Linked DNA regions of Homo sapiens: all the other regions are linked to region 1. Evidence: promoter capture Hi-C in human tissues and cell types (Jung and others, 2019). All regions are on one chromosome and are shown on one strand. The core of a region is centred on a gene start or on the middle of the fragment in contact, and the rest is flanking DNA. Distances in the headings are between cores, read along the strand shown.

Region 1 (5,825 bases), core at 3,251-5,750:
GATTGTGAGGTCTGGCTCCAGCCAATGGAGACAGGACACAGTAGCAGGGCCAAACAGCGGCAGGGATGAAAATGGCTTCCCTCCTTTGTTCAGGTGTGCTCTCGCCATTGTTCCATCTGTGATGAGCACCCCTTCTGCAGAAAGTAAAAATGGCCTTGCTGAGAGAATTAAATTTATGTTCGAGTGCTGTGTCTTTGCAGCACTTGGGAACAAGCATTCTGTTTCTAAATAACAATTTTTACATATAACAGTGTTTTAGGAACCCCTAAAGCATCTCCACCACTTTCATGTATTATACAAATAATAGAATGGAAGGTTATAATTTGTATGCCCCAAAGGCGGAGCATTAGCAAGGTCACGTTTGATCATTTCAAATGTTGGTGTATTTTCTTCTGACCACTCTAAAGTCCTGGCATGTCCTGTTTTTAGAGAGCGTATAAGGACTGAGCTTTAAAGAAAAGTTTGGGATCCAATTTCTATAATATCCTGCCAGTCCTCCACATCCTTTTGTTTCTTGGTTGTTGGTGGTGGAAAGCTAAAATTCCTTTCAGTCTATCTAGATTAGTAGAAAGTCTTTCTTTAGATATTAAGTGGCCCAAGTACTTTGTTTTTTATAAAATTGAGGTTTTTCTTTAGGAATTTTATGTCCCTTTAGGGCTGTTGTAATGAATGTATCCCATCTTCTATAAAAGCTTTGCTTATCTTCTGAGCAAAGGAGTAAACTGCCCATGTATTGTAATAAAAAATTTTTTTTAAGAACAAGTCAAAAGACTGGGCCCAGTGCCTCGCGCCTGTAATTCCAACACTCTGGGAGGTTGCAGTGGGCGGATCACCTGGGGTTCAGAGTTTGAGACCAGCCTGACCAACATGGAGAAACTCCATCTCTACTAAAAATACGAAATTAGCCAGGCATGGTGGCGCATGCCTGTAATCTCAGCTACTCGGGAGACTGAGGTGGGAGAATTGCTTGAACCCGGGAGGCAGAGGTTGCAGTGAGCCGAGGTAGCGCCATTGCACTCCAGCCTGGACAACAAGAGCGAAACTCCGTCAAAAAAAAAAAAAAAAGAACAAGTCAGTATGTAAGACAACTGTCTTTGCATCAGTTGGACTCTCAGTGTAGCCCTGAGCATGGCTGTCTGTGTGTATTGTCTGCCTTCCCAAGTAAAGGTAAAGAGAAATCAACACTTTCACACACAGAACTACTGAAGGATGTGCTAATAAGTCCACTACACTAAAGGACTTTGATCGGGGTAGCCAAGAGGATTCTTCCAGTATCAGTGGAAGACTCTGACCATATTTGATCAAGTACTGCCTTTAGTAGGTTTTGTAATTCTTCATTATTCAATAATTCAGTGTCTTCTAGGGCAATTAGGGATCGCAATTGGGTTAGATTTTGAAACTTTTTTTATGTCTAGTAACTCAGCTTTCTCATCTAATTCTAAATACGTCTTCCCCCTTTGGGAGAAAGAAACGTGGATATTGTAATTCTAAGAAGTCTCCTTTTATAAGATGGCTGGCAGCTGATAGAACCAGAAGGAAAATGTGAGTCCCTTGTAAAGGACCTAGTTGAAAAGCTATAGGCTGAGATTTACGTGCCGTTACAGGCGTATTAGTGACACCTACCCTTTGAACTTTTTTTTGACTCCAAGGAATGGAACCTTGTAACAAGATGGGATTTATTACAGAAAACACGGCTGCTCTATCAGCAAAAGCTTATGTCAGCAATGGGAACTCGTGTTAACTATTTTAAATAATTTTTATGGCCAGGCGTGGTGGCTCACGCCTGTAATCCCAGCACTTTGGGAGGCTGAGGCAGGTGGATCACAAGGTCAGGAGTTCAAGACCAACCTGGCCAATATGGTGAAACCCCATTTCTACTAAAAATACAAAAATTAGCCGGGCGTGGTGGTGCGTGCCTGTGGTCTCAGCTGCTCGGGAGGCTGAGGCAGAGGAGTCGCTTGAACCTGGGAGGCGGAGGTTGCAGTGAGCCAAGATTGAGCCATTGCACTCCAGCCTGCGCAACAGAGCGAGACTCCGTCTCAAAAAAAAAAAAATTATTTTTCCCAAAGTAGAGGCAGGGTCACACACTCGGGTATTTAAATTCTCTGGGAAAACCAGTGGGGTCCTGGTGAGCATCAGGAAATTCCTTGATTATACTTTTAAGTTCTACCTTTGACCATAACTCATGAACTAGGGCACATAGTTGTCCCCTATGAGAGACACTGGCTGTTTGAGCAATGGCCCCAAAACAGGAGGAGGAGGAGGAAGAAAGGTGGGTCTGGGCGAGGTAATTCAGACAACAAAGGATAAAGAGAAGGAGCTGAGGGAGGAGGGGGAGAAATTTCAGTAGTCTTTTTTAAATTCAGAAATTATTTTAGATAATTTTTGTTTTTCTCTCATAAATACCTTTATTAGAACTTCTTTTGGATGCTTCCAACTACCATAAAAAATAACTCTCCCAAAGATTCCGTTTTATCCTAGAGCCAGCGTTTTCCAATTGAGCAAACAAGTAAATTACCTTGGTGTTCCAATGGTACCCGGCTTTGGTCACTGAAATGTTTTTTCTCAAGTTACGTGAGACCATTTTTCTAAATATAACGAGAGGTGGCACCATAAGCACTGCACAGGAAACCAGCTGGAGTTTCCAAAGATGGGTCCTCCCTGAAGGAGAAAGACTTGTTTTGGATGGACGATTGCCTATGAGTTCTCTTAAGTGACAAAAGACTGTAAGGGAAAATCTGGTTACTCAAGAAGAAAGTTTAGACATGTCAAATTGAACTCAGCTCCAGAGCCTGGCCAGTTTTAAGGATTACAAATTTTGCTTAAGCCACGATTCGCTGCTTCTTTTCAAAGAGAAACTGCTTTCCCCTTCTCCAAATCTGAAGGACAAAAAAGGTTGCAAACTTTAGCAAGACGAACAAAACCTTAACCTCGAAGGATAGTGTTAACCACACACCTGCAAACAGCTGACTCTTTGGAGAAATAACAAACGAAACTCTTGCCTTAAAACCAAGCCTCAACTCCAGCCCTATCAGGTGTGGACCTGGGTAGGCGGAACAGAGTCTGAACCTCAGCCCTGGGAGGCTGCCAGAGACCCCGGCCAGGTTCCCAGGCGGTCCGGTGAACCAAGGCCGCTCCGCGGGTGCCAGCGCTCCGAGTGCCAGAGAAGTGGCTCGGATCACAAGAGGCTGGCTTCGGAGCCATCTGCAGGCGCCCAAATCCCAACCTAAAATCACCACAGGGTCAGAATCTAATGTAAGGGGGGGTTATTCAAAGGCAGTTGGAGGCTGGCCCACCCGGAAACACCGGCTCCAGAGGAATGGAGTCCGCCCTCGGAAGCGGGGAGGGGAAGGGTGCCCTCGGGCAGGCAGAGGCGGAGGCTTTTAGCAGGACCGCGGCGTCCTTCCTACGAGGTGGGCGCAGTCCTCGCGTTTGATGGACGACGGGCAGTGCCTGCTTCAGGGAAGGGTGCGGCAGTCACGGTTTCCCGTCTTCTGGTCTAAGCAGTGCAGAAAACAGGGAAGTTCATCTACAAGGGTCATGAACTAAGAAGGCAGGAGGTTTCTGTCCCCGGCACCGGCGAATCCCGGACCCGAGAAAGGAGCTACGGGCGCACAGAAGCGGGCGGCCCCGGCTCTCGCGGGGCTTAAAGCGCGCAGTGTGTTCGGGTTCACACCTCTAAATGTATTTTTGCCATTTCTTAAGTAGCCTTAAAAATGTCCGTCACTATTTAGTCCTTTTATCAACCGAGGGGCCCGGAAGGCCGCAGCGAGGGCGTCGGCGAGAAGCCATGGAGGAGAAACGGCGCTTCTCTCGGGAGTTTAGGTGGCAGCTTCAGCAGCACACGTTTCAGCCCATTCTGGGGCCGTTTCTAGTGTGGTTAACGTACAAAAATAAACAAATCCCCTAAAAGTCCCACGCGGACATCGGCGGGAGCCCAGGGCCGGACGCCGCGGTGTGGAGCGAGGGCGCCGGCGCGGACTATGAGGGCCCACCGCGCCTCGTCCAGGGCTCACTTAAGAGCAGCGTGAGCAGCGCTTGGGACCGCCGTCCGGGACGCCCGCAGCCCTTTAGGATGGAGGCCACCGTGACCTCCGCCACCGAAGCACCGCGCTCCCCTAGTCCCCTCAGCCGGTCGCCGTTCCCCGCCGCGCAGGCGCAGGAGCCGCGGCGAGCCCCTCGGTCACGCCTCGCCCCTCGGTCACGCCTCGCCCCTCGGTCACGCCTCGCCCCTCGGTCACGCCTCGCCCCTCGGTCACGCCTCGCCCCTCGGTCACGCCTCGCCCATCCGCGCCGCGCAGGCGCACTGAGCCTCAGCCGCTCTCCTCGCTACCAGGCTCCTTTCCTCTATCGCGCAGGCGCACTGAACCTCAGCCGCGCCGGGAGGCGAGCCCGTTGGCGAGGGGCGGGGCAGATGGCGAGGGAGCGGGGCGAGCTGCTTTTTGAGGCTGCGCACTCGCATGGCCCCACCTCGCAGGTCCACTTCCGGCGCCGCGGCTGTTCCGGGCGGAGACCGCTTGTGCTGGAGTCGGAGTTGTAACGCTCCACTGACTGATAGAGCGACCGGCCGACCATGGCGCCCGGAGTGGCCCGCGGGCCGACGCCGTACTGGAGGTTGCGCCTCGGTGGCGCCGCGCTGCTCCTGCTGCTCATCCCGGTGGCCGCCGCGCAGGAGCCTCCCGGAGCTGGTGAGGGCGCCGGGGCGGGCGGGGCCGCGAAGGGGGCGGGGCGGCTGGTGGGTCCAGGTCGGGGTCGGGGTCGGGGTTTCGGCCAGGGCGCTGGGCTCGGCGGGCGGCCTGGGCCCACGGTCGCAGGCAGCGCCCCGACGGAGGCTCCTCGAGGGTCACGCCCGTTTGGCGGCCGCGGGAGCTGCCGTCGCGGCTGGGGCGCGGGCAGGGGAAGAGCCGTCTTTGTCTTTGTCTTTGTTTTGTCCAGTCGCTGCGGCCGCTCCTCGCGCGTGGCCTCGGGTTGGCCCTCGCCCGGCAGGCGGGACGCTTGGCACCTGCGGCCTCCCTTAGCCTCACTGCGACCCCAAACAGCACTCCTCGGGTTCGATCCCGAGCCGGGAAGCCGGCTCACGACGTGTTCGAGGTCGCACAGCTGGTCGGGGGCAGGCCGGGATGGCGGCCGCAGGCCCCTGCAGGGTGATGGGGCCGCGGCCGGTGTGTCTCTACAGCCGCCGGCGTTCACGCCGCCACTCCCTCCCGGCCGCAGTTCCACGCACAGCAGCGAACGCTCGCACTTATGCCTTAGAAAGGAAGGCGTCCCCAAAGCCAGGCTGTAGCATCTGATTTTGAAGCAAGCTGATTGCGGTTCTACGCTGTCCAGACGCGCAGGTGGCATTCTTCATCGTTTATCCCGTCTGCACCAGGCCCTGCGGCCACAGTGGTGACCGACAGCCAGAGCTCCTATCCAAGAGGAGCTGAGTCCCCGGGAGGCTGACCAAGAAAGAAGCAGTGAGGGCGCGGGGGCTGGGGGAGGAAAGTGCATGACAGGAGACTCAGAGTTCCAGAAACCGGCAGTGTTTATAGAGGGTGGCTTCCTGTGGGGCTGGGCCTCCAGGGCCTGGTGGGCTGCGGGAAAATCCAGCAGGTTCTAAGCTGGAGAGTGTCATGGTTGGACCTGTTTCACAATGTCATGCTGGCTTCCGTGTGTGGAGTTTCCAGGTGACCACTAGTGGTGGGGAATAGTGCCACCTTAACTTCAGTTTCCTGACCCTTACAATTAGGGTTGACCTGGGCCCAGCTTGAGGGGCTAATACTTTTCTCAGCTCTTGTTAGCCCAGGCTCTGTCAGTGTCTGTTTAGCATAGTAGAGCACCTTTTC
Region 2 (5,514 bases), core at 2,015-4,514, 660 kb before region 1:
TGCCTGTGCCCTCCCTGGGCCACCTGGGTGCCGCTAGAGCAGCAGCAGGCACGTGGGCTGCCCTCAGGCCTGTGGGGTGAGGTGTGCCCCCTGACCGCCACAGGTACTGCCCAGCAGTGCCATGAGTCTAGTGTGGCCCCAAACCCTAAATTTTGTTAGTTTAGTTAATAAAGTAAGTCAATTAGTTAATTAACTTGGTTTTGATTGGCACTTAAATCACTCCATGTGGCTGGAGACTTCCCTCAGCCTCGGAGACCCTGGAGGTGGTGACAGCCTGGCCTGGGGGACTCCGGAGCAGCTCAGGTGTGGGTGGCTCCCAGTTTGGTGCTACGGGGTGAGGATGGGTCTGGGGTCTGCATTCGTCTCCAGGGTGGCGTTTGGTCCTGAGTGGCGAGGAGGCCGGCACTGGGCCTCGTTTTGCGGGGTAGGGAGGCCTGCAGACCATCTTCCAAGGTGCCCTGACTCCACCCCTCCTTCCAGGCACAGCGTCACCTTCGTCCCCTCCGGAGCTGCACGTGGCCTGAGCAGGATGGTGCCCTCCAGCCCAGCGGTGGAGAAGCAGGTGCCCGTGGAACCTGGGCCTGACCCCGAGCTCCGGTCCTGGCGGCACCTCGTGTGCTACCTTTGCTTCTACGGCTTCATGGCGCAGATACGGCCAGGGGAGAGCTTCATCACCCCCTACCTCCTGGGGCCCGACAAGAACTTCACGCGGGAGCAGGCATGTGGGTGCCGGGGTGCCGGGCGGCCGCCTGTGGGTGGGTGGGCGGGGAGCAGCGTCTGGAATAGGCACGTGGGCGCCGGGATGCGGGGGCGGCCGCCAGTGGGTGGGCAGGGAGCAGCTTCTGGAATAGGCACGTGGGCGCTGGGTGCCAGGGCGGCTGCCTGTGGGTGGGCGGGGAGCAGCTTCTGGAATAGGCACGTGGGTGCCGGGGTGCCGGGCGGCCGCCTGTGGGTGGGCGGGGAGCAGCTTCTGGAATAGGCATGTGGGCACCGGGGTGCTGGGCGGCCGCCTGTGGGTGGGCGGGGAGCAGCTTCTGGAATAGGCACGTGGGTGCTGGGTGCCAGGGCGGCCGCCTATGGGTGGGCGGGGAGCAGCTTCAGGGGCCAGGGCGCTTTTCCTGTTGGATGTGTGAGCACTTGAGGCTGGAGCGGGTGAGTGGCCGTGTCAGCTGATAATATGGTCCTGGAGGGAACCCGGCTGGGGTCTCACACTCCCAGCAGCGGGCACCATCAGATGGAGGGGCCTGGCTTCGGCCTAGTAACCAGGCTAGATAAAAAGTGATATTGTGTCCTGCAGAGAGAGAGCCTGCCCCACCCCACCCGCCAGGCCGTGCTCATCGGCCCTCCTGGTGAGGAAGCCCACGTCCAACCCTGCTGGGCACCTGCCTTCCACAGAGACTTAGTGGCTATTTACCTAAAGAGATTATTGAAGGAATTTTCATTTTACTCAGCCATGAGGACAAAGGGTCTTATTGAAACTGTTCTAATAGGCTTATGCCCAGTCACGGGTCTCTCAGGTCACATGAGCGGTGGAGGCGGGAGCGGCCGTATCCGAAGCAGTTTCCTCCTGGAGCTGTGGGGTCCTTGTCCATAAGGCACATCTGCACAGGAAGAGCCTGGAAAAGCGCTCTCACAGGCTGCCGGCCCAGCTGGTCACCCCGACACCCCATCCCAGGGCCCTGGGCCTGCTCACCTGCCCATCCCAGCCGCTGACCCCGTCCTCTGCTCCCACATGGCTGACGCTCGGCATGCCTCTTGTTCCCTGTGTCTCCTGGCCGGAAGCCGGACCCCAACCCTCCCAGACCCTAGAATTGTGAAACTGATGTGCAGCTGAGGAGTGTGCTATTGGGACAGTGGAGGTGCTGCCCTTCCCGCGTGCCCAGCTCAGAGCACCGTGCGGTGTGATTGTGTCTCGTCCCACGGCCAGCACTGCTAACCGCCAGGCTGGGTCACTTTCTAGGCGAGGACAGGGTCTTGCCCTGGCTCCGGCTGTCGGTGGCGGGGCTGGGGCTGGAGCGGCGGAGCCATCTCCTTGACCCCTCATGAAATGCCTTCTGCTCCTGGCCAGTCCGTCCCTCTCCCTGCCACCCACTGACCAGATGGCATCTCTGCTCTTAGTGGAGGGCCACTGTCCACCGCCAAGGTTATTTATAGGGGTGAGCATTATGTGTGGCGTTTCCCTTAAAATAACAAAATAAGAAAAGTCTCTAGAGCAAAAATGTTTAAATCCCATCTGCCTGCCCTCTCATGTTGTACATTAACGGATTAAAAAGTAGATTCCAGAAATTAAGCCATTCCACCAGGCCTTGGATATCATCAGAGGGACGATGGGTGCAGGTGCTCTGCGCACCTGCCACTTGGTGGGGCCCCCGATCTCAGCCCCTCTGGCTGCAGGAGAGGCCCGGGGAGAGCTTCATCACGCCCTCCCTCCTGGGGCCCGACAAGAACTTCACGCGGGAGCAGGCACGTGGGCGCCGGGGTGCAGGGGCAGCCACCAGTAGGTGGGCGGGGAGCAGCTTCGGGGGCAAGGGAGGCCCAGCCTGCCAGGACTCGCCAGCCCCTGTTGTTGCCAGGCTTGTGTCTAGGAAGTTCACGTAAGTGGTGTCTTGTGACCCAGCTTTCGCAAGTTGCTCTCCTGCCCAATCTGACTTGAGAGACGTTCCACGTGGGTTCGAGGCTGTTCTTAAGCTGCGCCTCCTGGGTTGAACTACAAGGTGCTTATCTGCTGCTTTGCTGGAGGTGATTAGGGGATTCCGGCTTCTCCCACTGCAGGTGATGGCTGCAGGTAGAGCACGAGCTGGCAGCCTCAGGCAGTGGGCCTTGACCCAGCTGGCCCGGGCTGGCACTTCCAGTTCACTCCTGGGGCGAATGCTGCTTCCTCTGCAGCCTGCCACGGGCTGCCCACGTTCCCCTCACCAGCTCGGGTGGGCTGCTGAGCGCCGGCCGTCTGGCCGCTGTGAGGAGCGTGGTTTCCTTTGCTCACATTTGCTCTGCCGCCATTTCTCCCGCCGTGGGCCAGTGTTTCCTGGCAGCCCTGTGGTTGCTGTCCTCCTCGGACCTGGTTCCCTTTTCTGCCTCCTGGGGACCCCGTGCCCTTGGGATTGGACTGGTTGTGTGTTACATACGGTGTTTCTCTGGAGTCATTTTGAATTTGGCCAAATTTCCCTCCAGGGTTTCTGCTTTGAGTGTCAGCTGAGAGCGCTTTCCCCGGCCGAGTCCGTGAGGTGCTCCTGGGTGCACTGAGGTTGCCTGGGCCCCCGCTGGAACTGTGCTGTGTGGTGGGAGCTGCAGCCCCCGCCCTCCTCCAGGGAGACCCCCCGGCCCAGGACCCTGTGCACAGCAGTCCCTCCTGACCTGCGGCCCATGCCCCGTCCCCAGCCAGCCCCTGTTGGGTGCCCTTCTGTGGCATCCAGTCCTGCTGCCCCACGCCTGGCCCTGCCCTCGCGTCCTGCCTGCCTTCGGGCCTTGCCCACCTTCCCGCCTCCCTGTTCAGAGAAGCCGCCCTGAGGCCGTCTGGACGTAGATTTGGGCGCAGCTGCCTGCACTCTGCCCATTCAGCCTGGACCCCAACCAAGACCTGTGGAGAGCAGGGCCGACGCTGGGCTCAGGCAGCAGGAGGCTGTCCTCGTGTCAGAGTCGTGGCCGCCTGACAGATGCCACCTCCCTGCTGGGACCGTTGTGAGGGCCCCTCCCCCAGCAGCCTTGTAAGTGGGACGCAGGTCACAGCTCTGGGCAGAGCCTCCCTGCTGTCTGCCTGCCAAGGCTGAGGAAGAGGGAGTAGGGGCCGTTGAGGAGGTGCAGGGAGAGGAGCGGGAGGGCTCTGGGTGGCTGCCAAGGGGGAGCTCTGCGCTCAGACCCTCAACTAAGACCAGGAGGTGCCTGATGAGGCCCCAGCCTGCAGAGCCAGCTCCTGGTGGAAGAGGAAATGAGGCATGCTCCATTCATTCGGAGGTGGGTGAGGCTTCTAGGACCCCTGGCCGCCCTTTTCCAGAGAGCCGTGGGGTCTGGGGAGAGCCTCTCTGCTGGCTGTCTACCATTTTGACTCTGGGCTGTGGGCAGAACCTGTGCCCCGGCCAGGGGCTGGGGCTGTCATGCCCCCACGCAGCCTCCTGTGTCTGGGGGTCGGGGGTCCCTGAGGTCCTAGGAGGACCCCTGCCTCTGAGCCGCTTCTTTCGGAATCTGCAGGGGTTCCCTGGGCTGGCCCTGAGGAGGAGCCTCCCCCAGTCGAGCAGGCCATCAGCCAGGAGAGCTTGCCCACAGAGGGGCTGTTTGATGTCCCCAGGACATTGCTGTAAACACAGTGCAGAAGCCGATGGCTGGCCCTGAGGCTCTCTGTGACCCGGCGGGCTCACTCAGCCTCCTGGCACATAACCTGCCCTCAGAGTGTCCCGGAATGTCCTGAGCAGGACGGAGTGCCGGAGGGACCTTGGGTGCCTGGTGCTGCTGGGACCACAGCCTTTGGGTCAGCCTGGCCTCCATGAGGGTGCAGGCTCCAGGGTGCGACCTCAGGGTGCCCTGAGGTGGGGTCTCTGGGCAGCCTTCCCCTGAGCCCCTGGGAAGCTTCTCAGCATGCCGGCCTGGCTGCAGGGTCCTATTGCCCAGCTGTTCACAGTAGCCGGTGGCCGGGCTCTGAGCACATCGGGCCACACATCTTGGGTGTGCCAGACACGAGGCTGAGAGCCCCCGGGGAGGCGGCGTGGCTCGGCGCAGCACCCCACGTGCTGACCCAGGGTTTGGTCCTGCCAAGTGTGGCTGGCAGGGGCTGAGGTCACCTGGGGCAGCACGAGTGGGGCTGTGGGGTTACTGGTGGTCAGGCCTGAGTCGGGTGGGGCCTGCTGGAGGCCCAGAGTCCAGCAGGGCCCTGCTGGCTCATCTGGTACCAACCTCCAGTGGATCTGAGGTGGGGTCTGGTGGGGCCTGTGGGCGGGGCCACCTGCTGAAAATGCACCTGGGCCCCAGGGGAGGCTCCAAGCATAGGGTGGCTCCCACATCAGTCCCCAGGGAGGGGCAAGGCAAGCGGCTTGGCCTCACAGGGGTGGGGCCTCTTCCTCTGGACTGTGCCCAGGTGTGCCCAGGTGTGCCCACAGCAGCCCTGGCCCCTGCCAAGACAGCTGAGGACGTTTGGTGCCTGCCTGTAGTAGTCTGGGGCAGTGTCCTCTGACCTTGTCCTGTAGGAGGTAGCACCCCCAGCCCCGTGCCCAGCTCCACGTTCCCATGGAAGGTGGATGTGTGTTGAGGCCACAGGCATGGAAGCCAGGCCTGGAGTGTCCACCAGCAGCTCAGTGGCCAAGGCTGTGGAGCTGGGTTCCCACATAACATGTGATGGAGGAGGTGGGGGTGGGCAGGCTGACAGCCTGTGCTCCCCCTCCTGGGAGGGTGCAGGGCGGCTACAGGGGCGTTTGCCCCCCTCCCTGCTCCTGGGTTGGAGTCTGGCCTTAAAGACCTTGCTCTGGGGACAAGTGTGAGATGGGAGTGCACAGCCCAGGGCCCTCTGCCCTACCCCACTTCCTCTCT
Region 3 (5,497 bases), core at 2,997-5,496, 770 kb before region 1:
ACTATTCTGCCTCTCTCTTCTACTTTTAAGAACCCTTGTGATTACTCAGAGCCCACCCAGATAATCCAGGATAATCTCCCTATTTTAAAATCAGCTGATTAGCAACCTCATTCCATCTGCTGCCTTAACTCCCCTGCCATGTAACATAACATAGTCCTGAGATTAGGATGTGGACAGCTTTATGAGCCATTATTCTACCTACCATGCAACTCCTCCTCCACTTTCACCCCCCTCCATCTCCAACAAAGTTCCAACCATTTCACAATGCCCCTAACACTTCCAGCAGGGTCCCAACTCCTTCACTATGCTTCCATACCTCCAGCCTCCACACCACTACACACTCTGTACTCCGGTTATTCCAACCTTCCAGTCTTTTTCTAATAAATGTATACCCAATCCATGCCCAATTATAACTCATGCCCTAGGGTCCAGCCCAAAGGCCACCTCCTCTCTAAAGCTTTCCCTGATTCTCGGCCCAAATGAATTGCCCCTCAACACGTTTGCCTGGTTTTCTATGTATCCCAACTGCAGCACTGAGTATGGCCCCCTGTAATTATCTGTTTACATGTTCCTTCCTCAATCCGAACAGGTGAGCCCTTCAATAAGAACTCTGTCTCATTCCCTCATGGGTTCCCAGATCATAGCATAGGAAATGGCAAACAGTAGGGAATCAGGGAGTATTTCTGAAGCTTGGATGAGGCAGAAGGAAGTTTTCCTGAGTTTCTGTCAACAAAAGAGATGTCAAAGAGTAACCTGGGTTAAGTGTACAACAAATGGGGCCACAGAATCAGTTCAGATGATCATAACAAAAAGCACCTCAACAATCCACTGCTTAGCTTGATATACAACTTACTACCATGTGACATCTCTGTACCACAAGTGACATCTATCTTTTTTGTTTTTTTTTTACTGCTAACCTGTGGGGCAATTCTAAAGTAACTGACAACATTAACCTCAAGAGAAAGAAAAGATTCATGTAAAATGATTTACAAAGATGTCCTCAATATTAGAGAAAAGAGAGTAGATATAGCTCTAACACAACAGGAATGCCTGGCAACCACTCAGTAGCCCAACACATAAACAGATCCCATCGCCAGGAAAGGCTGAGAACCAACATGCTGGAGAATGCAAAACATGCTAGAGTCAACCCTTTTGGGAACAAGTTGCCCCTACATAGATATATGCCTACAGATGTATGTCTATATTGTAATAAAGGTGCTATGATTAGAATATCCCCTCCAAAACTCATGCTGAAATGTAATCCTCAATGCAGAAGCAGTATTGAGAGGTGGGACCTTTAAGAGGTGATTGGATCAAGAGGGCTCTGCCCTCATAAAATGGATTAATCCATTCATGGGTTAATGGATTAGTGGGTTGTCATGGGAGTGGAGCTGGTGGCTTTGGCCCCCGGACCTTAGACTTCTCAGCCTCCATGACTATAAGAAATAAATTCCTTTGCTTTGTAAATTACCTAGTTTCAGGTATTCTGTTATAAGCAAAAGAAAACAAACTAAAACAAACTGGTACTTTCTTAAAGGAATGGTTGTTAAGAAAACAGGGTTTCATTTAATGTCAGTGATTTGTTACTTGATGCCCATACTCAAGCAACAAAACTCCCACCTAGAGAGACAGTGAAGACTAAGCAAAGGAAATTGAATGTTGTAGCATAATTATCCTCCTTAAAAAGAAGAATAAAATGGCGTGTTTTCAAGACACGCTCCCATTCAACATAATTTCCCTGATCAAATTTTATTTAATAATATGAATTCTGAAATTAATTTTAAAGTACACTGGAAAGGAAGTTTGAGCTCCCCCTGCCCCAAAACACACACACACACACACACACACACACACACACACACAGAGAGAGAGAGAGAGAGAGAGAGAAAGAGAGAGAGAGAGAGAGAGAGAGAGAGAAACAGGTGACACGGATTCAGCACCATGGACAGCGGGCCCATGACGCCTTGCCTCTGAGTCACTGCCACCAGGGATGAGAGCTGAGACATCAGAGCTGCCCCAAAATCTACAGCATTTATTCTAATGTTTAAGTTGGGGCAATTCCAATACATGAGCAAGTATTTTCCTTGGTTATGGCCCAAAGCACTGCCTTCTTCACTGAGAGGATACACAACTTACATCTACTAAAATCTGTTTCAGTGTTCACCTTTACAATAAAGCCATGAGACTTTTGTAAAAATAGAAATGATTCTGCCATTGACACAGGAACTGAAATAATCAAAACTGATACACAGAATCCAAATCTGAATAGCTAGATTGGTTCAAGAAGCTCGTGAGGCTTTTTCAAATTTATAAATGCAGCATGCTGTCAGCCTCCTCAGAACAATAGGGTAAAGAATAGCTTCTTCAAAACAGCTAGCAAAATACAACTATATGTTGAACTTTTTCGCATAAATAGCTAAAAACGTAACCACAAAGCTGTGTGGGTTTTCCCCCACCATGAGCATTATAAAGATATCTGGGAAAGTGATGTTTTGAGGTCCAAAAGCACCACTAATCAGCAGCACCTGGGGCAACGCCAGCCAAAAAGCCCTGAATTCTAGACAGAGTCCATTTTTTTCAGTTATAAAGACCCCATTTATCATCAAAACTTTTTCAAAACCTTATAATATTATCAACTAAGAAAATACGTGAAGCTACGTAAGTTCTAAACCATTCGTAATGAACTTGCACTGTATAAACAACAGCATCTACATACAAGCAAAAAAAAAAAATACTGCTCGAAAGTGAGACATCAGTTAGTCGGTCACTGCACTTGTTAGTTTTAAGGCCCCATGTTTTCTGACAGATCTCCAAGCCTGAAAACACCAGAACTATTTCTGCTTCTGTCGTGTGATGATCAATTAGGTCCTTTCAGATCTTGCAAATGATCCCTTTAGAGTGCCACTGTTCTACAAACACTCCTTTTGGGGCCAAAATAGGTATCTCTGACACGCTTTAAGATGATGAATTATTCTTGAATATGAGGAGGACTGGGAGTTAGTTCTCTTAAATAGGGAAGCACCCTTGCACACTCCTTTGGGATCCACATCTGAGAAAGTCCAAAGAAAAGAAAAAGGGCAACAGTTTGCCCCTGAAAGTGAGTTCAATTTCAGAGGGATATGTGAGGGCCTGTGCCAGAGGAATATTTTTGAAATGGGGGGAGTCTATAAGTTGCCCAGTCTAATCTCTAAAGGCCTCTCCGCAAGGCCCTGCTGCTCAAGATTCCTTCTGGCGAATCCCACTCTACAAACACTCAACAACTAAGAGTGCTACTGGCTCACATGGAGGGCTAACAAGACCTGCAAATCCAGGCTGCTCTGAAGGACGGTGGAAGATAACCAACCCCGAGCCACGAGATTTAGGACCCGACTTTTGGTTAACTTTCAAATTTCTTATGCCAGTAATATACTTCAGAGTGGCGCGGAGGGAATTGGAAAACATCACCAGGCAAAAAAAAGAAAAAAACTCTTTCACGAAACAAGACTTCCAATTAGAACACGTGTGGGGACAATAAGAAACACGTTCTAACCACCCCCAAAATTAAAATAAAACACAGCGAGCAACAAGAGAGACCTGCGCGCGCCCCACCGCCCGCGCGCGGCTCTCCGCAGGGTCACCGAGGGGTGAGGCCGCGCTCTCCCGGCGGCCGTCCAGGGGGAGGAGGCCCCGCGCCCCGCCCCGCCGCCCTCCAGCCGCCGCGGCCGCTCCGGGGTGTTCCCCAGATCTCTTCTCAATCAAGAGATGAAATTTGTGCCGTTTTGAAACTGAAGCCTCAAGTAGTCCAGACGTTTTCTGACCCACATCCGAGACGTTCTCGGCTTCCCGCCGCAACTTCCGAATTTGGGGAGGGGGCGGAGGCGGGCGGGCCAGGCCTGGCGACCGCACCTTGAGGGAGCGCGAGTCCCCTCGCTGCCCCGGGCCGCCGCAGGCGCCGGCGGCGGTCGGGGACGGCGCGACCCAGCCCGGGACCCCCGCCCGCCCCGGCTCGGGCGAAGTTTGCCGCGGCCCGGGGTCGCCCCGTCACTCGGCCTCCGTCGGGGACTGGGTCCCCGTAACCCGCAAGGGCGCCCGACCCCGACCCCGCCCGCCACCGCTCACTCACCTGCCCTGCGCCGGACGGCGAGCCCGCGGGCCGGCGGGGAGAGGCCGGGAGGCCCGGGCGGGGTCGGGGCGAGGCGGGTGAGGAGGCGGCGGCGGAGCCTAAGTCAGCCGAAGCGGCGGCGACCGCGGCTGAGGCGGCTGAGGCGGCGGTCGCGGCTTCAGGCGCTCCAGCCCGAGCGCTGCGCGCGGCGCGGGCCCGCCCCTCTGCGCCGCTAACCAATCTAGCGCCGCGCGCCGCCGCCGGCCCCGCCCCCGCCCAAGGGCAGGCTCGCGAAAGCGGGCGCCGCGGGCCAATGAAAGGGCGGAACATCAACCGGCGCGGCCAATCCGAGCCCGGAAAGTTCTCTGGAAAAAGCCAACTCCAGTCAAAGGGGCGGGGGTGGGGCTGGGGGCGGGGCGGGGACCTGGCCCAATGACGCGCGGGGCGGGGCCGAGCATTGGGCGGGGAGGAGGCGGGGCCTCGAACGGGCGGGCCGGTCACTAGTAGTGGGCGGGGTCGTAGGCGGGACATTGAGCGGGCGGGGCAAGAATCGGGGCGGGGGCCTAATGAAGTGAAGCGGGGAGGGGACGGGCAGTGGGAGGGGCAGGTCACATTTGGGGTGGGGTGGGGGCGGGGCAGGGGCGGGGCTGAGTACGGGAGGCCAGGCCGGGGAGAGGCCTAAGTCGGGGCGGGCGGGAGAAGGGCAAGAGCAGTGGGCGGGGCTCGGGGGTTAGGGGATTAGTGCCCTTGCTGGGGCGGGGCCCAGGCTTGGGGCGGGCCTGTGGTGGGCAGGGCCGTGGATGGGCGGGGCGAGCCTTCGTGGGCGGGCCAGGCCTGTGGTGGGCGGGGCGGGCCGTTGGTGAGCGAGACCTTGGTGGACGGGGCGGATCCGCGGTGGGCGGGGATTTGGCGGGCGGGCGGGTGGGCCCGACGGGACGGGAATGGCCGTTGAATTCCCAGCCGTGCCGCAACCCCGAAGGTCCCCCTGCAGCGCCCGCTTCCCGTTCTCTGTGGGCCTGGCCCCGGCCCGGAGGCTGGGGCCGCAGCGCCCGGCGGGCAGGGGCCCCGAGCGGCTCGTGAGCCTGTGCCCAGACGCTGCCCGCCCCGCGCTGGTCCCGCCGCCCTGTCCCCTCCGCCCGCCCGGCGTTCGCGTGCCGTGGCCTGGGGCGGGGCGTTGCTGGGCCCCGGGGGCTGCAGGGGGAGGCCGCCCTTTCTCTGGGCTGGCTCCGGGCTGTTCCGCTCCGCGCCGTTTTCCCGGTACTTCCCGCGGAGCCCGCCTCGCTGTGCGTCCCCGCCCGGGCGTTTCTTCCGCGGCGCTGAGCGCCCGCCCCGGCCTCGGGCAAGGGCAGCCGGACGCCCCGAGGACCAGGGCGCTGGGGCCGAGGCGCGTCCTCCGCAGTCGCCGCGCCTGGGCCC
Region 4 (5,653 bases), core at 50-2,549, 590 kb after region 1:
AGACTGGAGACCCTGGCTGGCTTCCCCTGCAGGGAGGGTACCTGGGCTGGCGGTGCCCCTTGGAGTCAGGGCTGCTGGCGCGGCAGCTCGAGCCTCTTCTGAGGCCTTCCTCTTGGTGGGGAGTCTGGGTGGCGGTACCAAAGCCTTGGGGACGGCCGGGGGCTTCCTCCCCTTCCGGGGCTGGCTGAGGTCCACATCTGCAGCTCAGGGGCAGGAGCAGGGTCCCAACCTCAGGGTTTTCTCCAGGGGTAGGGTGGGCCCCAGAACTGGACACCTTGGCCAGACAGGTGAGGCCTGGCCCCTTTGCCTCTTAGGATCCAAGACGGTCCTGGAACATCACCCACGGGCTCCTCAAACACCACTCCGGTTCCAGTCCAGCTGGGCTGAGCAGGTGACAGCAGCTGCCCCAGGCCCCCAGCATGGCTGAGTCCACCAGGACCCACCTTTGGGGAAGCTGTCCAGGATGGGCTGCAGCCGGCCATAGCGCTCCAGGTTGTAGTCCTTGAACAGCACCCTCCAGAAGTCCAGGATGGCTGTGGAGTCCTGGGTCAGCAGCCAGGACAGGAGGGCGTGGAAGGCCTGGGGGCAGCCCTCCTTTTCCTTCAGATGAAGCGTCTCCTGCAGTGGGGTGGCATGAGGGTCCCTGCCATGGTCCCCCACACCCTGCGGCCTGCCCATCTCCATCATGACTAGAGGGTGGAGCTCCCAGGCAGAGGCGCTGGCGACCTGGACAGCTCCACGCCCATCTCCTCGGCTTGTGGTGGAGTCAGGTGGTGGTGTAGGGGTGTTGAGGGTGGGGCTGGGGGAACCTGGAGGCCATTCCCTTGGCTTGGGGGTGAGGTGTGGGGACGGCTGGGGGAAGGGGACCAACTTCTAACTTGTCATCAGGGACGCCCCTGGCTCCTTGTGGGGAGGGAGTTGGGGAAGGCTGGAGGGGCTTGGGGATCTGGAGGGGCGGGGTCCTCCTGGAACTTCCCCGGGGACTATCCCTGGCTCACAGGGCCTGGGGGCAGCGGGGGGCGGGCGGGGAGCCCACCTGAAACTTGTCCTCGGGGACCACGTCGTGGTCAGCCAGCGCGTGCAGCAGTGGGAAGGCGCTGTCCACGGCCACCGCGATCTCCGTGCGGTGCAGCCTCAGAAGCCGGCGTAGCGCCGCGTCCGTCGCCATGGGGTGGGCGCGGGGACCCGGGGCTGGGGCGGACGCGGTGGGTCCCGGGACACTGGCAGCCCCTCGCTTGGCCTCGGGTCCCGGCGGGGCTGTGGGGCCTCCGCGCCGGCTGTGCGCCCGCCCGTCTCCCCGGTCTGCGAGCCACGCGCGCCGCTGTTATACCCCCGCGACCACGCAAAGAGCAAAGGCCGCTCCGCCCCGGCGCCCAATCAGGGCCAGGGCCTCCCGCAGGGACACTTCCCTGTGATGGAGGCGCTGCTGTCCCTCCCTCGCTCTCGGGAAGTCTCCGGGCCTGGCCTGACTCACCCACCAGGGCAGCTGCCTTGGGGGCTGGGGACAGAGACTCGCTCTGTGCGGGACTCAGAGAACTCTCACTTCCGAATGTGGCCCTGTCCTGCCTCGGCGAGGGCCCTGCTCGAATGGGGCAAAGCCGAGACAGGTGCCCTCGGCGGGGAGGCTCGGGTCTCAGGGCCCTGGCAGGGGCTGCCCAGGGTGCACCGGCCCCTCCCAGTGGCCGGCAAGAGCCTCCATGGAGGCTGGATCGGGGTGGTGTTCCTGGGGGACCTCCACACAAGCTGAGAGCCCCTACTCAGGGGCCCGCCTGGGGCTGTGGGAGGAGCCCGATGGAGGCTCAGTCTGATGCAGGAGACGGTACGGCAGCCTGGGTGTTGCCAGGGAGCTCCTGACCTCACCATCTTAGGCTAGCTGTGTGACGCCAGGCAAGTCCTTTCCTTCTCTGAGCCTCGGTTCCCTCATCTTTAAAAGGGGCACACTCGCCTGGGGATTGAGGCTCGCATTGACCCCCTCCTTCCTTCCTCCAGGTGCTTTAGAAGGAAGGCGGCCAGCCCCACAACGGGGGTCCTGAGTGTGGCCCTGAGTGAGAGCTCCCAAAGGGTCTTCCTAGGACCAGTGACAGAGGCTGAGGGATGCTGTGGCCTGGACAGGAGCTTCCGGGGGCATCTGGGAAGGTGTCCGGGAGGGGAGCTGCAGTGGACAGGAGCCGAGGGTCCCAGGTGGACGTGAGTGGGGACAGTGCCCCCAGTAAAACAAGACCAGGTGCAGAGGCCTGGGGCCTGCAATGATGCTGAGGCTGTGGTGGCCCCGCAGGCATGGCCTGGAGGGGGGGTGGCCTCAGTGGGAGGCCTTGGTAACAGTCCCCTTGTCTGTGCGGTCAAGCCAGGGAAGCAGGCCCTGTGTGCAGGCTGCAGAGAACCACGAGAGGTCTCTGGGCACGAGTGTTCCCACTGAGCCAGAGAACGAGATGACCTGGCCAGCATGGATTAGGGCTGAAGGGTGGACGAAGGTACCAGGAAGCCTGAATCCAGGCAGCACTGGGCTGGGGGCTAACTGATGCAGTGAGAGACGCCACCAAGATTCCCACGTGGGCAGGCGTGCCGTTTGCTTTTGGGCAGCCAGAGTCCAGGATGGAGAGCGGCAGACACCTCTCCTCTAGACCAGGGGTCGGTCTCGGTTTCTCCTACCGCCTTCAGGCCCAGGGTCCCCCTGAGCGTTCTGCACGTCTGAGATTGCTCCGGAAAAGACTCTAGGGGTGTTTGGGAACAAACCTGGGGAGGAAGGTGGGGCCAGAGGTGGTGGCCGAGGTGGTCAGCCTGGGGTCAGGTGCTGGGGACGTCATGGGGAGCTGAGGGGGAGGGGGTCCATCTCAGTGGTGGCTGTGGAGTATCAGGCAGTGCAGGGTTGGAACAGGCTGGCTCCTGTGTGGAATGTCCTGGGAGCCTTGAGCGGGGAGCAGGGCCCTCTCGCTGCCCAGGCCTGGGCGTCTCTCACTCCCTGCACTGCGCCTTCCGAAGACCCCGAGAGGGAAGCCCCCTGCCTGCATGCCTGCCTTGCCGGTCCCCGCTCCAACAGACACATCCTGTCCCCAGCCAGGCCGGGCTGCTGCTCGCTGGGTTTCCTGCCCTCTCCCCTGCAGTTCTGTATTTACAGCAAAAATATTTAAATAACTGCAAGCGAAAGTTGCACAGAAGCCCAGCTTTGCACAGGATCCCTGTCTGCTCCTGAAACACCCCCATTCTCCTTGCTCATCCATGGGCAGGGGTCTCACGAAGGGAGAGCTCACTAACATCAAGTTCAATGGCAACCCTTGGGCCCACTGGCTGCACAGTTCATGCATAAAAGCCCCTGGGGTGCCAGGGAACCAGCGCACACAGCTTTGGGATGACCAGTAACCGTTGCTCCCAGCAACTTGGCTTTCCTCTCCTTTGAGGCTGTGGGGAAAAGAAAGAGAGATCAGATTGTTAATGTGTCTGCATAGAAAGTAGACATAAGAGACTCCATTTTAATCTGTAACCCTACCCCCAACCCTGTGCTCCCTGAGACATGTGCTGTGTCAACTCAGGGTTAAATGGATTAAGGGCTGTGCAGGGTGTGCTTTATTAAACAAATGCTTGAAGGCAGCATGCTCGTTAAGAGTCATCACCACTCCCTAATCTTAAGTACCCAGGGACACAAAACACTGCGGAAGGCCGCAGGGACCCCTGCCTAGGAAAGCCAGGTATTGTCCAAGGTTTCTCCCCATGTGATAGCCTGAGATATGGCCTCCTGGGAAGGGAAAGACCTGACCGTCCCCCAGCCCGACACCGTAAAGGGTCTGTGCTGAGGAGGATTAGTAAAAGTGGAAGGAACGCCTCGTTGCAGTTGAGACAAGAGGAAGGCATCTGTCTCCTGCCCGTCCCTGGGCAATGGAATGTCTCGGTATAAAACCCGATTGTATATTCCATCTACTGAGATAGGGGGAAACTGCCTTAGGGCTGGAGGTGGGACAAGCAGGCAGCAATACTGCTCCTTAAGGCATTGAGATGTTTATGTGTATACATATCTAAAGCACAGCACTTAATTCTTTACCTTGTTTATGATGCAGAGACCTTTGTTCACGTGCTTACCTGCTGACCTTCTCTCCACTATTATCCTATGATCCTGCCACATCCCCCTCTCCGAGAAACACCCAAAAATGATCAATAAATACTAAGGGAACTCAGAGGCCAGCGGGGGTCCTCCGTATGCTGAGCGCCGGTCCCCTGGTCCCCCAATTTCTTTCTCTATACTTTGTCTGTGTCTCTTTTCCAAGTCTCTCGTTCTACCTAACGAGAAACACCCACAGGTGTGGAGGGGCAACCCACCCCTTCAGAGGCCATCCTGCCCCAAAGTCACCCCCTGCAACCCGGTGGCTTTTCCCTCCCCAGATGGTTAAGTGAGTCAATGGATGCCTTAGCCCAGAGATGGTTAAAGGGGAATTAAAAACTGCAAAGCGAGATCCAAGTCTGCACTTCACTTTTTAAAAAAGACCTGCAGTCTTTGCGGGTCACCTGTGTCATTGGGCTGGGGCCTGACCCCTGTGGGCAGGCGTCACCCAGCCTCTTGCATGGAGGTTTAACAAAGAGGCCCCTGTAGAATTTCGGACTTTCCACCATGCCGTGGGGCTTTCCACACCAGCCCCTTGCCCGCAGGTGACATGGAGCCGCCACGGCTCCCTGGAGGTGGCACAGACCCCTGGAGGGGGGTGAGGGGCTGGGGACTCGGCCCTGTCTTCAGTGGGACTGATGCCTTTGTGGGACTGAGCCTCAGTTTCCCCAAGAGGCACCTGGGCAGCAGAGCTCTGGGACAGTATTGGGCTCCATCCCTGAGCCCCGTGTCCTCGGCTGGAGCGGGAGGGCCCCGCAGCCCTTTCTCCCACATCTGTGCTGTGCCCTTGGACGCCTGCGGACCTGCCATGCCCCGGGCTAGGCCCTGAGAGCTTTGTGATTCTGCTCACTCCATCAGCAGAACGGTCTCCTCAGGTCATCATCGTGATTAGTGCCATCCACAGATATGGAAACTGAGGCCTGTTGCCGGGAGGAGCTTGGCCAGAGTCACGCAGCTGCTAAGGGGCAGAACCACGACTCGGACCTTGATGCACGGAAGAACAGAGGTTCTCCAGGTCCATGCTCCTGCTGTGCCGGGTGCCCCTCAGGTGCCCAGGTCACGTCAGATGTTCTCAGCCTGCAAAGTGGGGGGACGCGGCCCATGTGATGTGTATAGAAGTTGGGAGGAGCCAGGTCCTAATGGCAGAGCAGGGAAGGGGCTGGAGGGGGCTCAGCCTTGGCCCCTCAAACAAGCCTGGACTCCATGCCTTCTCCCCTGCTCCAGATGGAGGTTCCATCCCCTGTGGCTCCCTGGAAGGGCCAGGCTCCCAGAGGCCAGGAGCCTGAGTCAGAAAGGCCTCGGGGAACATGGAGCCCTGGCCAGGCCTTGGCTCCTGGAGGCCCTGGGCCCTGCTCCTGCAGCCTGGCCAGGTGGTCTGGCATCAAGGGAGGGGTGGGTCCCCTCAGGACACTTTGTGAGGACCCCTAGCACCCTCCTGGCCACAGGCTTCCTCACTGGGCCTCAATTTCCTCACTGTAGAGAGGAAGTTGCCTCTACTTGTTGAGGGCGGGATGGCCATTCCACATGGTTGTCCAAGTCAGGGAGGCAGCTCCGAGCACCGGT
Region 5 (5,695 bases), core at 2,489-4,988, 860 kb after region 1:
CATACACTCTTCAGTATTTACAAGCTGTAACTAGTTCTGAGTTTAAGAAGGCCCCTACTGTGCTAGTCCCTCTTCACAGGAGCCCGTTAGGCAGGAGGTTTAATTATGGGCTAAAGTCTATTAAAACATTTAGGGCCAGGTGCGGGGGCTCACGCCTGTAATCCCAGCACTTTGGGAGGCCGAGGCGGGCAGGTCACCTGAGGTCAGGAGTTCTAGACCTGCCTGGCCAACAAGGTGAAACTGTGTCTCTATTAAAATACAAAAATTAGGTGGGCATGGTGGTGTACGCCTGTAATCCCAGCTACTTGGGAGGCTGAGGCAGGAGAATCGACTGAACCCGGGAGGCAGAAGTTGCAGTGAGCCGAGATCGCGCCACTGCACTCCAGCCTGGGCAAGAGAACAAGACTCTGTCTCAGACAGAAAAAAAAAAAAAAAATTTGGAGAGCTTCAAAATATTATTAAAATAATTCAGGCCAGGTGAGGTGGGTCATACCTGTAGTGCTGGCTACTTGGCAGGCTAAGGGAGGGGTCACTTGAGCCCAGCAAGGCTGCAGTCGGCTATGACCATGCCACTGCACTCTAGCCTAGGTGACAGAGCGAGACCCCATCTCTAAAAAAATAATAATAATAAAATGAAGTGAAATAATCAGCTAGGTTTTAAAGTAATAATCTATTCTAATTACCCTTAATCTTTGGGAACTTTTCATTCTTCTATCCCTACATATACACAGTTTTTAAATTCACCTGAACCAGTTACATTCTATATTCTTCCCAGAAAGGTCTAAGCAGAATGCATTTTCACTGAAGTAAAATATTATACATTCTATGGAAAAAAAATTCACAACATGCATAAACTCTACTTTCATTTTAAAATGAACAGATCTGAGGTAATACCATTTCAAGTAAGAATTTAAAAGATTTTTGAAAACAAAAATGTTGCCTACTAAGAGAACTATGTACATAATATTAAAAAGTTAAGGGTTAATTAGCCTCTGGGTGGATTTTTTTAAAGCAATTGTTCATACCACCTTCTCCTTTCAAAACATGTATAGCTGAAAGAGAGGAGCAAGATGAAGGCATAAAGTGAAACCAGGCCAAGTGCTTCCTAAAGCTTCAGTCCCAGATATACCACAACATAATTTCAAGTGGGAAGTATGAAGTCAGCTTTTTACCTTCACTTTTAAAGTGATCATTTTTCAAGTTAACTTTGACAGTCTACTGAAGCCCCCTTCTCTTCTGAGACTCCAATGAATGAAAGTTTGCACCTTCTAGGACAGTGTACCATCCATGCAGAGATTAACATTCACTATGTTGCTTGAGGCCAAGGGTGGGGGCTCAAGCCTGTAATCCCAGCACTTCGGGAGGCTGCGCAGGTGGACAACCCAAGGTCAGGAGTTCGAGACCAGCCTCACCAACATGGTGAAACTCTGTCTCTACTGAAAAAAAAAAAAAACAAAAACAAACAAACAAAAAATTAGCCGGGCATGGCAGCATGCGCCTGTAATCCCAGCTACTCGGGAGGCCGAGGAAGGAGAATCGCTTGAACCCGGGAGGCAGAGGTTGCAGTGAGCCAAGATCATGGCCGAGATCATGCCACTGCACTCCAGCCTGGGCGACAGAGAAAGACGCCGTCTCAAAAAAGAAGAAGAAGGAAAAAAAAAAATTCACTCTGCTGCTCAAAACACAGGAAAAAACCCACCACCAAGATGACAATCCAATAAATCTGTAGGAAAGAAAACCGCATCCTTCAGCTGTCCGTGATGCACGCATGTACAAAACTAAACATTAAATATCTCCAACACTGGCAACCAGATAACAAACTTTACCCCTTTAGTTATGGTTGAATCCAATAGAGCTTAGGAACTTTCTCCTCAGAAATGTATTTACATAATGCCTATAAATACATATTGCTATTGAAATGTAAGCAAGCTAGGAGGTAGAAGATAAAATTAGATGTGTGGATGTCCGTACAGGCAATGAATGTGTATCCAGCATTCACAACGTGCACAGCACTTTAGGAGAAAAATGTTCAACCTCTGGAAGACAGTAAAACTTAACATGAACTGCGCATGGCTTCATCTTCCCTGAGCACTGGGAAAGCCCCTGGGAAATTGCAGGGCCTGCAGACCAGCTCTACCCACATCTGCCCTCTGGGGCTGAAGGTGCAGAGTAGGAAAAGACTTTCAGCTGACAAATATTCTGGGGAGGAAAAAAGACAGCTACTGCTGAACTATGCAAGTCTCCAATTTTAAATGAGACACAGTCCACTTCCCTAAGAAAAGTCTATCATCTCGTCTAGGTCTCTGTAGAAAAAAAAGAGAGAGGAGGAGAGGAGAAGAGACAAAATAAAGCAAAAGGAAGGAAAGAAATAAGTCTATCACCTAAAGCTGAAGCAACAAAATTCAACCTTCAATATACAGTTTCTCAGGGATCTAACAGGAAGGAACACAGCAGGTGCACACCCGCTGACAGAGTGAGAGGGAAACAGGAGTTCTCACGACATACAGTCTACTGTGGCCTGGGCACCCAGATTTTGCAACAGAGAGTGCTTCCTTTCCAAGCACGAAAGACAACTAGAAAAAAACTAACTGCATACATGCATGAAAATACAGAATACTGTCAAAGGTCAAAAATCGTAACAGTCTGAAACACCTCTCTGCAAGTCACCTAAAAGCCAACCAACAAACATTTCAATACTTCCCATAAGCTCACTGTTCTTAACCGTATTTAACTCTGGAGAGTCACACTTCTAAAATTTAGGGAACATTTTTCCCGTAACAGAAAAACAGTTCCTTTGTGTATGCATTAAAGGAGGGGTGCGGGGAGGACACGACACCCAAGAGGCACCAGGTGTCCGTAGTGTAGACTCGAGCGGGAGGCTGTTCATGGGGAGCAAGCTCGCCTAAGCGCCCGAGCCTCGGCTTTCTCATCCGTAAAATGGTTTGAGTGCGCGGCGGGGAAGTGTGTAGGAGCGAAAGCAGTCCCGGCGGCTCTGCCTGACGCTTCACCCCGCAACAAACTGTTCCTACTTCGCCAACGCCTGCAACTCTGCGAGCCCCCAAGGACTTCCCCGTAGTCGGGGAAAGGGCGCCCGCGGGCAAAACCGCCCGGCGGAAGAGGCCGGGGCCCCCAGGTCCCGGGCGCGCGGCTCAACGGGGGCGGGACGGGGCGGTGGCAGCCCCCGCTCCTCGCCCTCGACGCCGGCGCGCGCCCAGTCCCGGGCAGAGTCCGCCGGGTTCCACCGGCTCCAACTGCAGCCGGCCCGAGGGCGCCCCCCAGGGGTCAGAGGTCGCCCGGCGGGAAGGTCAGAGGGCGTCCCCGAAAAGTCAGAGGGCCCCGCCTCAGCCGCAGCCCTGGTCACACCTCCAGGAAGCGGCCCAGCCCGGAGCGCGCCGGGGGCTGAAGGTCTGGGGGCGCCGGGTGCATAACGCCAGGGCCCGGGCCCGCCCAACGACCGCCGCGCCCTCCCCGCCTCCGGGCACTCACAGGTGACGATGGGCTTGTTCTCCATGGTGTAGATCACCGGCGGCAGCGGCTCCTCAGAGGCGTCCATGGGCGTCCGGCGTCACCGGCCCGGCCCCCCGCGCCCCATGGGCAGCCCCGAGGCCGCGCCGGGCCCAGCCGGAGCCCGAGCCTGAGCGGCGCCGCCCGCCCGGCCGCGCCAGGCAGCTCCGGAGCCGGTTGCGCCGCAGCTGCCGCCCGCTGCTGCCGGCCTCAGCCACTTCCGGCCTCGGCGCCGCCGCATGACCATTTCCGGGGCGCGCGAGGCTTCACGGGGCGGGTCTTCGCCGCGCTTCGCCTCCGACGGAAGTGCGCCCGGGCCGGCCGCGCGGGACCGGGAGGTGGGAAGTGGGAGGCGGAGCGGGGCTCCCGGGACACGTCCATCTTCCTCCCTCGGCAGTGGGCGCCCCGCTGGGCCCTGCGCCGGAGCTGAGGCCAGGACTCGGCAGGCGGGCCTCGCGCGCGGTGAGCGAGCCTGGACGCTCCCGGACCAGAGACGCCGGCCTCGCTGCCCTCGCGTTCCCCGCAGCTCGGGCGTCCCGCGGCGGGCCGCTGCTCCCCGGCCGGGCTCCTTATCGCGCTGGGGGCTCCCGCAGGCCCTCGCCGCTGAGTGTCCCCGGCGCGTGCCTTCCGCCTACCGCTGGGCTCTTCCCGTTTCCCTCACGCCGCAAATGTTTTTGTGGGGACCTGGCCCTCGGCATTTCGGAATGCCACAAAATAAACCTCACACTTAACTGCATATGGGCTTCTTGTGCACGTAAACGGGGGGGGCGGGGCGCGGGTGTTTCTTTTTCTTTTTTTCTTTGGAGCAGGGTCTTCCTCAGTTGGCTCAGGCTGGAGTGCAGTGGCGGGACACGGCTCACTGCAGCCTCCACCTTCCAGGCTCAAGCGATCCTCCCGCCTTGTTTCCCCCCGCCCCACCCCCTCCGCCAGTAACTGGGACCACGGGGGCAGCCACCACGCCCAGCTAATTTTTTTCTTTTCTTTTCTTTTGTCGGGATCTCACTATGTTTTCCAGGCTGGTTTCAAACTCCTGGGCTCAAGTGATCCTCCAGCCTTGGCCTCCCAAAGTGTTGAGATTACAGGTGTGAGCCATCACTCCCAGCCATAAAATGACAAAAACTGTCAACCAAAAATAATCAAAAGGGTCAGAATCTAGAGTTTAGTCAAATGCGAAGCTTGAGGCGCCCAGGAAACATTATAAAGAATGGAAGTCAGTGTTCTCAAACGTAGAAATTTGGGGTCGTTTCTATAGCCAGCGTCTCGGGAAGCCTAACCGAATTTCAGCGTCTTTTCTGTATAAGGCCTAATGCATAGTTACAACAGTCTGTTTAGTCGAGGTGGTCTTTTTCTTTGGGGACCCACTGAAGATGAAACAGTCCTGGGGTCTCTGTGCTGTCTGGTCTAAGTCAGGTACAGGACAATGGAGACAGCTAATCTGTAACAAAAATCACCAAATGGGAAGGGGGAGACCTGGTCTTTCTTAGTCATTAACAGCAGCAGTCCCCAACCTTTTTGGCACCAGGGACCAGTTTCATAGAATGCAGTTTTTCCACAGACAAAGTTGGGGTGGTTTCAGGACGATTCAAACACATTTCATTTATTGTGCACTTTATTATTTTTATGTTGTAATATGTAATAAAATACAACTTCCCATAATGTGGAATCAGTGGGAGCCCTGAGCTTGTTTTCCTGCAACTGGACGGTCACATCTAGGGATGATGGAAGCCAGGGACACATCATTAGGGATGAGATTCTCATAAGGAGCACGCAACCTAGACCCCTCCAATGTGCAGTTCACAACAGGGTTCACCCTCCTAGGAGAATCCAGCGCTGCTGCTGACCTGACAGGAGGCGGAGCTCAGGCGGTAATGCCAGCGATGGGGAGCAGCTGTAAATACAGATGAAGCTTTGCTCCCTGGCCTGAAGCTCACCTCCTGCTGTGTGGCCTGACCGGTATGTGTCTGTGGCCCTGGCGGTCGGGGAGCCCTGATTTACAGAGCAGCCACAATGAGGAAGACACTTGTGCTCAAGAACAAGGAGGAAGAGCATTAAACTGTAATCGAAGAAGCAGAATTGCAAACTTGCTACTGACTCAGTCTCCAGGGCTTAACTTCACCCTTGGCATCATAAGTTTAGAGAGTCCTGAAGTTTTTTTTAACAAAATGTATATATGAGATAGTTTGGGTGTGAA

The links. The method cuts DNA at HindIII sites, captures the fragments that hold promoters and counts their contacts. A contact is called where the count stands out against the background at its distance.
Region 2: a contact is called between a fragment that was not itself captured here and the fragment with the promoter of PTTG1IP in region 1, in 1 of the 25 tissues and cell types used here (spleen).
Region 3: a contact is called between the fragment with the promoter of PCBP3 here and the fragment with the promoter of PTTG1IP in region 1, in 2 of the 25 tissues and cell types used here (hippocampus and spleen).
Region 4: the fragment with the promoter of AIRE here is called in contact with the fragment with the promoter of PTTG1IP in region 1 in 1 of the 25 tissues and cell types used here (dorsolateral prefrontal cortex).
Region 5: a contact is called between the fragment with the promoter of TRAPPC10 here and the fragment with the promoter of PTTG1IP in region 1, in 1 of the 25 tissues and cell types used here (dorsolateral prefrontal cortex).

Annotation. Positions count from the first base shown.
Region 1 is chr21:44,872,365-44,878,189 of GRCh38, reverse strand. PTTG1IP (PTTG1 interacting protein) reads left to right here and starts at 4,500. Exons shown (of 6, transcript NM_004339.4): 1 at 4,500-4,688. The coding sequence starts at 4,574. RefSeq lists enhancers at 3,543-4,220, 4,378-4,878, 4,879-5,379 and a silencer at 4,137-4,786. The HindIII fragment of the contact is 14,261 bases long and covers 1,203-5,825 here.
Region 2 is chr21:45,532,975-45,538,488 of GRCh38, reverse strand. It overlaps SLC19A1 (solute carrier family 19 member 1), which reads left to right. Exons shown (of 6, transcript NM_194255.4): 2 at 481-718. The coding sequence starts at 530. Among named protein-coding and RNA genes, the nearest start is that of SLC19A1, 6.7 kb to the left of the region's middle. RefSeq lists an enhancer at 3,423-4,297. The HindIII fragment of the contact is 5,189 bases long and covers 670-5,514 here.
Region 3 is chr21:45,642,474-45,647,970 of GRCh38, reverse strand. It overlaps PCBP3 (poly(rC) binding protein 3), which reads right to left and starts at 4,246. Exons shown (of 18, transcript NM_001384156.1): 1 at 4,103-4,246. RefSeq lists silencers at 3,592-3,731, 4,052-5,041. The HindIII fragment of the contact is 13,348 bases long and covers 1-5,497 here.
Region 4 is chr21:44,281,522-44,287,174 of GRCh38, reverse strand. AIRE (autoimmune regulator) reads right to left here and starts at 1,299. Exons shown (of 14, transcript NM_000383.4): 1 at 1,037-1,299; 2 at 444-618; 3 at 42-197. The coding sequence starts at 1,168. RefSeq lists enhancers at 1,820-2,421, 2,422-3,025, 3,026-3,627, 3,628-4,231, 4,648-4,727. The HindIII fragment of the contact is 44,459 bases long and covers 1-5,653 here.
Region 5 is chr21:44,010,352-44,016,046 of GRCh38, reverse strand. TRAPPC10 (trafficking protein particle complex subunit 10) reads right to left here and starts at 3,738. Exons shown (of 23, transcript NM_003274.5): 1 at 3,487-3,738. The coding sequence starts at 3,553. RefSeq lists enhancers at 2,234-2,283, 2,304-2,363 and silencers at 2,914-3,583, 3,734-4,113. The HindIII fragment of the contact is 5,486 bases long and covers 1-5,045 here.